2 separate regions of the Homo sapiens genome follow, and region 1 is linked to region 2. Evidence: promoter capture Hi-C in human tissues and cell types (Jung and others, 2019). All regions are on one chromosome and are shown on one strand. Each heading gives the region's core, a stretch centred on a gene start or on the middle of the fragment in contact. The rest is flanking DNA. Distances are from core to core; before and after follow the strand shown. Region 1 holds the start of ACSF2 (acyl-CoA synthetase family member 2). Region 2 holds the start of SGCA (sarcoglycan alpha).

Region 1 (5,620 bases), core at 963-3,462, 260 kb after region 2:
GCTGGAGAGCCTGGATGGCCCACTGCCCTGCTCCCCACTTCCTTATACTAGCCAAAGAATGCGGGTCAACGTGATTCCCCCACCATGACTCACGGACTTCCACCAGCCGTCTTGACTTTCTCCCAGCCCTCCTCCCCATCCACAGAACCAGTGCCTACCAGGGCTTTGCACAAATAAAACAATTCTCCCTCCTAAAAAAGGTTTGCAATTCCTACACAGAGGAAGGTCTTAGAGTGAAGACACAAGAGGAAGGAGAGGATGGAAAAAGAAACAATCACTGAAAACTGGCCGACTACCAGTTCTGTGCCACCTACTCAATTCTTACCCAGCCCTCTGCGTGAAGTTGGTATTATTATCCCCATTTGACAGATAACGAGGCTGGAGAGGCCCCGTGACTTGCCCAAAGCCACAAAGAGACTACTGGCAGAGCTTTGGCCTATGTTTAAGAAGCTGAACCTCTTTGGGATTCAGTTTCTTCATCCATAAAAACAAAGACACATTCCAAGCCATGCCTGTTCCTTGCAGGGTGTTTGTGAGGGTCAGAGAAAATGTCCTTGAAGAGCCTGGCATGTACAAGATACCCTGAAACTGATGGCTATGATGCCACGGCCTGTGCACCTAGGAAGAGTCAGGAAAGCCCAGTGTCTTGAAAAGCCGAGGCTGGAGCAAAGTTCAAGGAGGAACTCACTTCTCTCCCACTCTAGGACTGACCCTCAAACTAGCCAGAAGAGTGGAAGGACCTACAAGATCAGTACCCACCCCACACTTCATAGGCCAAGAGAGGGACAGTGGTTTACCCAGGGTCACCCAGCATGCTAGAGGCTAAGCCTGCCAGCCACGGCTGGGAACCCAGACTTGTGAATGCCCCAGCCCTCCACATTCCCTGGTCCGCTATCAAAGACAGTTAGTCTAATTAGGAAAGCACACCCTTGCAGGCCCAGCCTCCGGTGATCTCTTTGTTCCTCTGTCTCTTCCTGCCCCAACCCCACAGAAACTGAAGTGTGGGGACCCTCCCTAGGAACCGGGGTTCCAGGGAGGATTTGAGGTCACGCTCAAGATCATAAAGAGGCCCAGCATGGACTCCTTCTCATGACCCAAGTGGAGCCAGAGTTCCCAGATAAGGGCAAAGGTCACCTCAGGCCAGGCTCCACTCTCAGCCACCCCTTCTGCCTGGCAGGGTTTACTTCATCTCCTCCAGTCAGGAGAGGGGAGGTCACACTGCCAGGGCCTTTGCCCCATTCTTCTCCAGCTCCTTCTCTAGAGGAAGAGTCATGGCTAGGCCGAGGCAGTGTGGACCTGGAACAGGTATAAACTGTGCTACTCTTTGGTGCCCAGTGCCACTTTTCCTAGCCAGGACCAGAGCTATCACCTTCTCTGTCCCGCAGCTCTGCCCAGGTCTTAGTACCCCACTCACCCCTGGGCCTCAGGAACCCTAAGGAGGGGCATAGGGTTGCTTTCCATTCACACCTGGGGCAGCACAGGGAACTGTGCCACAGGCCCCAAGACAGGCAGATGGAGGATGAAATACACAGGTCCCAGTCCCTGAGGCCACCTTACGTGTCCGGCCCCCAACCCTGTGCAGAAGGTCAAGGCAGAGGCGCCGAGGAGGGATGGGAGGATGCCTCCTGTGAGATGGGGTACAACTGGTGTTCCTTCTGAAGCTGACATCTGGCCTCAGCTGGGACTCTGGCGCCAGCGGGCCCGCAGGGGGCTCACCCGCGACACCCTTTGTTCTGGCTGCCTCCCCAACCCCGCGGGGCCCTCTGCTCCAGCTGGCATGCCTCAAGGACGCTTCGCGCCTGCTCCTTTGGCCCCCGGCTCGCAAGTAGCGGGGCCAGCACGTGACCCGAGGGGGCAGGGGATGGATGGATCTTGACCTTGCCATCTGGCCCCTCACGGATGTGCTGCTGGCTCTCCCTCTAGGAAATCAACAAATTTTTGCGCTTCTAACATCCAGGCCCCTGAGGATGGTCGCGAGGAAGATCTGTTTCGGACTGCAGCTGGGGCCTTCGGATCCAGAGGAAACCAGGGCTATTCTTCGAGGGTGGGAGGGGGAGGGCCGCGGGGTCGGAGGGGAAGGTGGCCCCGCGCGAAGTCGCCGCCGCCGCGCCCCGCCCCGCCCCGCCGGCGGAGACCGAATCCGCCGCACCCCATAGGCAGAGGCCACCCTCCCCGCCTCCCCGCCCGCTGCGCGCCCGCCCCGCCCCGGCTCACTTTAAAAGTTTACTCGGGCCGGGACGCAGGGCAAAGCGAGCCATGGCTGTCTACGTCGGGATGCTGCGCCTGGGGAGGCTGTGCGCCGGGAGCTCGGGGGTGCTGGGGGCCCGGGCCGCCCTCTCTCGGAGTTGGCAGGAAGCCAGGTTGCAGGGTGTCCGCTTCCTCAGGTACTGGCCCCCCGCGGGAAGAGAGGGGGCGGGGCAGTTCCCCGGGAGAGGAACTTGGAGGTCCCGGCGAGCTTCGGAAGCCCCACCTCTGGACGAGTGCACTGGGGGGAAGGTACCCGCCCCTCCCCCGCCCCCCGCCAGCACCTAGGCAATAGGAAAAGCTGGCTTGGCCTGGTGGACTTGGGTGGGGAGGGGGCTTTGGTTGGTGGCTGCAGTGACTTCGAGTTCTGGTCCAAGACTCTCGATTCCTTCTCCTTTATGGGCACAGAGGGCAAGGAGTGTGGGCTTTAAGGAGAATATTCCGATGGGGAGGGGCAAGGGCCAAGGCCTGGGCTGTACCCCCAGGACACTGCCTCTGAGTTGGAACCCCTTCATGGGCAAACTTGGGGATCAGCCCCAGTCTCCCCGACCCAGGCCACTAAACTTAGCAGTCTCCTGTCTCCTCATCAGCTGCTCACTAACATGGCTTTAATTCTTTGCTGCCTACTCCTGGGCCTATTTCCTTCTGTCCTCAGTGCAAGGGGTGGGATGGAAGCTGGCAGGCAGAGGATTTCAGTTCCCAGTAGCTTCACTGCCTCTGCAGCAGCACAGTAAGTAAAGCTGCCTTCCCGGTGTGACCAGTCCTTGGGAGGACCCCGTGAGATGGCAAATGTGAAAGTGCTTGAGACACAGAGAGCAGGCTGCCACTCATGTTATCAGGGCTGTTAGCTTCAGCAGCACCACTGGGGAGCCCTGTGCACTACTGAGCCTGTCCTACCACTCAACTCGGCCAGATACTAAGTCTATGGTCAGGACAGCACTTTCAGCAACATCAGATGGGGTGTGGGCCTGGACATGGAAAAGGGAGAAGTCAGAACAAAGCTGTGTCTCAGAGAACTAGATTTGTTTTTGTTTTTAAAAAGGCTAAGTAGGAAGAGTTGGAGGGACATGCAGACTCCTTTTTGGCTAGAACTCCAAGATCACACTTTCTGAACTTGCTGATTTCTGAATGCTAGAAAGCATGCAATGCCTTAACATCACTCTGCCTAATTTGCTGAGAAAACTAAGTGGATCAAGGCTGGTCAGTAGATGGGATTGAGATGAGGACAGTGGGGTCCTCTTCCCAGTGACCCTGGGAAGTCACTCACTACTTCCCAGGGTCTCCCTAGACAAGTTCGGCCCTCCCCTGACCCCCTAGTCTCTTAAGCCTCTCCTCTGGACTCATGGCTGCCCCCTCAGGCTGGGAGGACTCTGAGGAAAGTTACTTCCCAAAGTGTACATATTTTATCACACTAAATCAGGCCACAGGGGAAGTCTCTCAGCCTACTCTGGCTCAGGAGGCTGCCCAATAGAAAACAAACAAACAAACCAATAAATAAGTAATAAATCAGGCCACATGGCAACATTTCTGACCTTTGACTTTTTTTTATCTATAAACAAAACAGGTCACTTACCTGCTACAGCCCTGGGACCTCTGAGAGCACCAAGCTTCAGAGAAATTCTTATTGCTGTGTCAGGAGGAGACTCATTTATCCAGACAGATGATTTTCTGAGTGTTTGGCCTACTTTCTTTCTGCCCCTTCCACTCCCTTGTGCCTGCACCCTTATTGTCTGACTGTGATGGTTTTACCTGATTTCTCTCCTACTTTCCCCTTCAGAAGCCTCAGGGCTCAGGCCAGGCAAGGTGGTTTATGCCTGTAATCTCAGCACTTTGGAAAGCAGAGGTGGTAGGATCACTTGAGCCCAGGAGTTCAAGGCTGCATTGAGCCGTCATCATGCCACTGCACTCTAGCCTGAGCAGCAGAGCAAAACCTAGACTCAAAAAATAAAAATAAAGGCTGGGTGGGTGGCTCATGCCTGTAATCCCAGCACTTTGGGAAGCCCAGGCAGGCAGATCACTTGAAGTCAGGAGACCGGTTTGGCCAACATGGTGAAACCCCGTTTCTACTAAAAATACAAAAATCAGCCGGGCGTGGTGGCATGTGCCTGTAATACCAGCTACTAGGGTGTCTGAGGCAGGAGAATTGCTCCAACCTGGGAGGCGGTGGTTGTAGTGAGCCAAGACTGCACCTCTGCACTCCAGCCTGGGTGACAGAGGGAGACTCCATGTCAAAAATAAATAAATAAAAATAAAGGCCAAGCATGGTGGCTTATGCCTGTAATCCCAGCACTTTGGGAGGCTGAGGTGGGCGGATCACTTGAGGTCAGGAGTTAGATCAGACTGGCCAACATGGAGAAACCCCATCTCTACTAAAAATATAAAATTAGCCTGGCGTGGTGGCACATGCCTGTAATCCCAGCTACTTGGGAGGCTGAGGCAGGAGAATTACTTGAACCTGGGAAGCGGAGGTTGCACTGAGCTGAGATTGCACCACTGCACTCCAGTCTGGGTGACAGAGAAAGACTTCATCTCAAAAAAATAAAAATAAAAATGAAAAAAGAAGCCTCAGGGCTGAAACCATCAGCAAACATTCCTGAGAACAGATTCTGCGTCATGCTAGCACATGCTGTGCATATAGAGGCCACAGAACTCAGTCCTCACCCTGCCAGGAACTTGCAGCCTCGTAGGAGGAGAAATAAATCAAGGTGAGCACTATTCGGTGTTGCAAGTGCCATGGTGAGGAATGCGCTTGGACTTTCGTCCTCTGTTTTCTCCGATCTGCTCACACACAGCCTGCTTTCCTGTTGCCCAACACCCAGGCCTATTACTTACCAGACCCTGGTTTTGCCTGAGAGAAAAGAGCAAGGGCTTTGAAGTTAGACTATCCTGGATGACAGCCCTGGGTCCTCTCCCTGTTGGTTGTATGACCTCGGGCATGTTATCTAACCTCTGAGCTAGTTAGTTCATTACTTACTACCTTCTTGCTGTGTTGTTGGGCTGATGAATAAAACAAGCTTGCTCTTGTTCTCAGCCTTTCCTTTGAGGCAGGGCTGATCCCTGGAAACCCTTGACTGGTGTCTGGGTGGGAATTCTGACTGATTTGAAAGTAGGAGAGGATCCCCTGATTGGTGGCCTCTTTCTGGAACCCAATTATTTCTCCTAGCTGATTGCCAAGATGGTGACTTCCACCCAGCTACATGTCCAGTCCTTGGGTCTGCTGGACGTCCTCCTCTCCGTTTGACGCAGGGCTGTTCAGAGTCTTTCTCTTTTTCTTTTTTTTTTATTTGAGGTGGAATTTCGCTCTTGTTGCCCCAGGCTGGAGTGCAATGGCATGATCTCAGGTCACTGTAACCTCCGCCTCCTGGGTTCAAGCAGT
Region 2 (5,533 bases), core at 3,033-5,532:
GAAAGATGTGGGTGGAGTCTGGGAGGCAGATGCGAGAATCAGATCACAATGACGAGAAGCCCTTTCCTTTGTCCCTCACGGCAACGTATAGATGCAGATAAAGAAAACACGGCCTCAGACCTCAAGAGACTTAGAGACAGGTGCACAGAAACTGAAGCTGAATGAGACACACTGGACAGCAGTCATTCGTTCATTCAGCAAACATTCACTGGGATGGGGAGATACAGGGACAAAGGACCAGAGGGCTTACATTTAGGCACTGGTGGGCAGAGACGGGGCAGAAAGCTGGAGAGACGGATGCGGATGTCAAAAAGGCCAGGACAGAGAAGCGACTAGCTCAGGACAGGGCTGGGCCGCAGGAGTGAGGCGGAGGCCGGGGAAGTACCGGCGGAGCCTAGGGCACGGCAAGGGCACCAGCTGTGCGAGGTGGGGTACGAGCCCCGACCCCTCCAGCTCTCCTGACCGACGCCCCAACTGGGGATGACAAAACGGAGAGCTAAAGATAGGCAATGTGAGCACCAGAAGGGACCCTAGTTGCAATGGACTGAAGCAGTCAGATAGGTGTAAACCATGTATCATCATTCTACTACTACCAAAGAAGCTCGGACTGGCCAGAGTTTGGAGGATGCTAGGGAAACAGCTCTTTATTCAGAAACTGTTTAATACAGGAAGAGTCCAGCGTTTCTCCCGTCTTCCTTTTACGAACTTTCCCACTCAGTAACCAAATCGCAAGGGGCAGTTTCTGTCTATAATTATTCCAGCTAATAAAGGAAGGGGTGATCAGAGTGATCAAATCTGAATATCACTATTCTGCACACACACAAAAAATAAAACGCTAATGGCGGAGGCAAGACACTACTAAGACCACAGAAACGCATGATGTGCCTTCAAATGGAAGAACACTGTCACCACCTATGAAGTGGTCTCAACGAAGGAAATTGAACATAAACCTTATAAGGCCTCTAGATCCAACTACAAATTACAGTAACAATGTACAGGAAATACAACGTACAGGAAGTATGGAGGTGGGAGGAACATGTTAAAGATCACCATAGAGATGCAATCAGCAAAATCCAGAGGGCAAAAAACTACAGAAGAAATTTTCTGGCTCCTTCAAGGAACGAGAAAGAGAAGGGAGGGAGGGAAGGAAGGAAGGAAGGAAGGAAGGAGAGGGAGGGAGGGAAGGAAGGAAGAAAGGAGGGAGGGAGGGAGGGAAGGAAGGAAGAAAGGAGGGAGGGAGGGAGAGAAGGAAGAAGAAGGAGGGAGGGAGGGAGAGAAGGAAGAAGAAGGAGGGAGGGAGGGAAGGAAGGAAGGAGGGAGGAAAGGAAGGAAAGTATGAAGGAAGGAAGGAAGGAAGGGAGGAAGGAAAAAAGAGAGAGAAAGGATGTATGGGAACCTATAGATTTGAAGAAATTTAAAAGAGCCTTGGCCAGGCACAGTGGCTCACGCCCGTAATCTCAGCACTTTGTGAGGCCAAGGTGGGTGGATCACTTGAGGTCAGGAGTTTGAGACCAGCCTGGCCAACATGGTGAAACCCCTGGGCATGGTGGCACGTGCCTGTAGGCTGAGGCAGGAGAATTGCTTGAATCTGGGAGGTGGAGGTGGCAGTGAGCCGAGATCATGGCACTGCACTCCAACCCGGGTGACAGAGCGAGACTCTGTCTCAAAAAAAAAAAAAAAAAAAGCCCTATAAATCATCAATCAGTTGCAATGTGTGTATCTTCTTTGTATCTTGAGTCAAACAAATACACTGTAAAAATATGTATGTTTATGAGAAATTGGTAATTTGAACACTAGAAGTTTGATATTAAGGAATTTTATTGATGATGTTAATAGCTGAACGTGTTATGTGATTATGTTAAAAAGAGTCATTATCATTTAAAGATACACACTGAAATATTGATGGATGAAATTAATCAGGAGGGGTACAGATGAAACTAGACTGGCCATGAGTTGATAATTGTTGAAGCCAGGTGACAGATACACGGGGGCTTATTATAGTATGCTGCAAATTTTTCAAACTAAGAAGTTTAAAGACCCTGTGACCTCCCTTCCCACCCCTAGGCCCAATAGACAGAAGGTGCTGTGTGTTACAAGCAGCAGGTTGCAATCCAGACAGCTCTGAGTGGGAAGGTCCTCTGATGGCTGAGGGGCCTGAGAAGGGTTTCTGGGGACTTTCTGGCTTGTGGGACAGTCCCTGGCTCCCTTGAATTGGGCAGGGAGGATCTGATGGGGAAGTAGCTGCAGCTTTTCATTAAGGAAGGCTGGCCTCTGTGGGCCTGGTGACACTGGGGCCAGGCACTGCTACCTTAAGACAGCTGAGTGGGTGGCTCCAAAAATAGCCAGGGGGACGGCAGGGGGCGGGGAGTCACATGGAGAAGCTCAGGGGTGAGGCTGGGCAGGTGCCCAGGGGGTTGGCACTTCTGCCTGCTCCCCCAGAACCCTTGGGCTCTTCCTCTGCCTCCAGAACCTTTCTTCCTCCCTCCCTCTGTCTCTGAGAAGACAGAGAGATGGCCAGGTGATGCTGGGACAAATACTGCCTTGCCTGAGGGGACGCTGACTCTGGAATTTGGTGGCTCTCCAGGGATGAGCGGGTCAGTCAGGTGGAGAGAGAGAGAGGAAGGGACAAGGACTGCGTAACCTGCCTACCAGTCACCCCATCTGCAGGCCAACACCTGTGCCCTTAGGCTGGACCCAAGTGATCCTTGCCTGGGGTATTTTGTTGTCCTTTTGAGGCCCTGGAGGAGAGGTCACACAGGCACCAAGGATTTGGGAACCCTGGCAGCCATAGGTCCCCGCCCCCTTCTCAGGGCACCTGGGGAGAGTGCCCCTGTGCCTGCCCTAAGTGAGAGACCTGGGGAGAGGACACCGCGCCCCATCGCCCCTGGACTGAGATCCTTTGGCAGAGGCAAGAAGGAAGGGGAAGCAGGGCCGGGCAAGTACATCAGCAGCACAGTCATCGACTGAGCCAGGCACTGGGCTAAGCCGTCCACATGCATTCTACTCATCAGCAATGTGGCCTTGGGGAAGGTATACACCCCTGTGCCTCAGTTTTATCATCTGTTAAATGGGCACAGTAATAATACCTGCCTCATGGAACTGCTGAGGAGATGGAATGAGGTAATATAGGTAGATATATGTAAGATTCTCAGCACAGTAGCTGGCAGCGCTAGCTGGTATTACCCACTGGCAGGTGACCTCCATGTGGGCAGAGGTTTGCTTATCTTTGCAATTTCAATGTCTGATACATAGCAGGTGTTTCATAAATATGCGCTGCATTCATTACTTTGTGGAGTCCTCACAATGATGCCAAGAGGCAAGCACTATTCTTGCCAGTTTATAGTTGTGGAAATGGGCTAGAGGGCAAATGGTGCACTCAAGGCCTCATCCCCAGCAAGTGGCCAAGGTGGCCCACCTCCAGGCCTCCAAGTCTATGCGCCGAATGAACCCTGACTCCATGGGCCAGAGAGGGTGCCTCCTCCGCTCACCTGTCTCTAGCTGGCTGGTCCTGTCCAGGGCTTGCTAGACCTCCACGCTGAAGTGCTTGGACTGGGGATAAAGGCTGGGTGGATGGCACCTACGTTTGCTGTTAAGGAAGCTGCCGCCAGCCAGCTACACCTACTAGTTACCAGGCCCTGTGCCAGGCCCAAGGATACAAACGTGACAAGATCCTAGTCTTCGAGGAGCTTGGAGCAGTCTGTGTGATTGTGTTGTGCCCAGGAAAGCACGCAGGGGCTAAGGGGACACCCAGCTTGGCCTAGCAGAAGAAGGGAGGTCAGAAAGGCTTCAGAGAGGAGAGGACATCTGTGCAGAGTCTGGAAAGGTGACTGGAAGGTTGCTGCTTGAATGAAGGTGGGAAGGGAACTGCAGGCAGAGGCAATAGCCTGGACGACGGCTTGGAGACTTGAGAGAGTCTGCCAAGCTAGGCAGGAGCGGAGTGAGGCTGAGCAGGGGCCTGGGGTTGGAAGGGTAGGGGCAGAGGATGGGATTCTAGACCAGCTGACCAGGTTCAGGACAGGCCAGAAAGCCACCAACTGGGGATGAGCTGGGAACTCAGGGGCCATGAGAACCATTAGAGTTTTAAGGGAGGATGGAGGTGGCCTGGTTGGTGGTTTAAAAAACACTGTGGCCACTGGAGGGGACGGTTGGAGGGACAATGAGTGCGAGGAGGGTGTCTATCCCAGATTTGGTGCATGCTCCAGGCGGGGAGGGGAGGCTGACGCTGGGACCCAGCTGCCCCGAGCCACCTCCCTCCTTCCCTCCTCTCCTCCCTGCCCCCTGTCTCTGTCACTCACCGGGCGGGCCAGGCCGGGCAGCCATGGCTGAGACACTCTTCTGGACTCCTCTCCTCGTGGGCAAGTTGGGGCCTTGTTCAGCGGGGAGGCCCAGGATGAGGGGGCAGGATTTAGGGGTGGTAAGACGGAGGTGTGGAGGGCCCACAGAAGAGGGATCTGGGTTGGGTGAGGCAGGCGCCAGAAGGGCTTTGGGGTGTTAATGCCATGGCCAGCTGGGGATCCAGGGAATGGGGCTGGGAGCTGGGCTCTGGGATGAAGGGGCTGGGAGCTCTGAGGGCTGGAGGTGTCCTAGGGCCCGGGTGGGTCTGACAGCACAGGCCCAAAGGGTCGTGGGCCCTTTAATGAGCTGGCTGGGCCGCAGCTTCTAAGCCCAGGCTAAATTTGGCCCTGGGAGGGAGGGTGGAGCTGGCGGCCAGGTCCTCTGCTCCTCTCTTGGACTTAGGATTCCTTTTGCTCAGCTCCTACTGGCCTCTAGGGCAGGCCTTCTTCTTCCCTGTATTTTAGGGGAGGAAGGTGGGGGTCTCCAGGCCCAGAATGGCTACCCTTCCTCCTCTGTAGGCTCCTGGCCCCGTCTTCCTCTCCTCTGGGCTCTTGGGCATTTAGCATGGGATTCTTTTCCCAGTGCCTTTCACACATACACACCCTCACACACACACACACCCACACACACCCTCACACACACCCTCACGGCACCCTCACACACACACCCTCACACACACCCTCACACACCCTCACACACCCTCACACACACACCCTCACACACCCTCACACACCCTCACACACACACCCTCACACACACCGTCACACACACACCCCACACACCGTCACACACACCCCCCACACACACCCCCACATACCCCCACATACCCCCACACACCCCCCGCAAACACACACCCCCCACACACACCTTCACACACACACACCCTCACACACACCCTCTCACACACACTCACTTGCACACACACCCTCACACACATCCTCACAGACCCTCACACATACCTTCACACACACACCCCCCCACATCCCCTCACACACACACACACCCTCACACACACACTTCCCAGTCAAACATCAGTCCCTGCCCACTGCACCATTAATAGGGGCCTAAAACAAGGAATGGAAAGGTTGTGGGAGAGGTTCTCCCTCGAATCCCGAAACCCAGACGATTAAAATGTCTAGCCCAGCAGGGCTTGCTCCCCCATCCCCACCCCAATCCCTTCCTGGGAGGCAGCAAAGGA

What was found. Contacts are between HindIII fragments. The study calls those that stand out against the background at their distance.
Region 1: the fragment with the promoter of ACSF2 here is called in contact with the fragment with the promoter of SGCA in region 2 in 1 of the 25 tissues and cell types used here (adrenal gland).

Annotation. Positions count from the first base shown.
Region 1 is chr17:50,424,006-50,429,625 of GRCh38, forward strand. ACSF2 (acyl-CoA synthetase family member 2) reads left to right here and starts at 2,213. Exons shown (of 16, transcript NM_025149.6): 1 at 2,213-2,384. The coding sequence starts at 2,257. RefSeq lists an enhancer at 1,745-2,289 and a silencer at 2,026-2,345. The HindIII fragment of the contact is 9,502 bases long and covers 1-4,554 here.
Region 2 is chr17:50,161,723-50,167,255 of GRCh38, forward strand. It overlaps SGCA (sarcoglycan alpha), which reads left to right and starts at 4,283. Exons shown (of 10, transcript NM_000023.4): 1 at 4,283-4,355. The coding sequence starts at 4,319. LOC105371818 (a long non-coding RNA gene) reads right to left here and starts at 4,635. Exons shown (of 4, transcript XR_934833.3): 1 at 4,296-4,635; 2 at 3,489-3,757. RefSeq lists enhancers at 1-60, 1,877-2,377 and a silencer at 1-10. The HindIII fragment of the contact is 20,868 bases long and covers 1-5,533 here.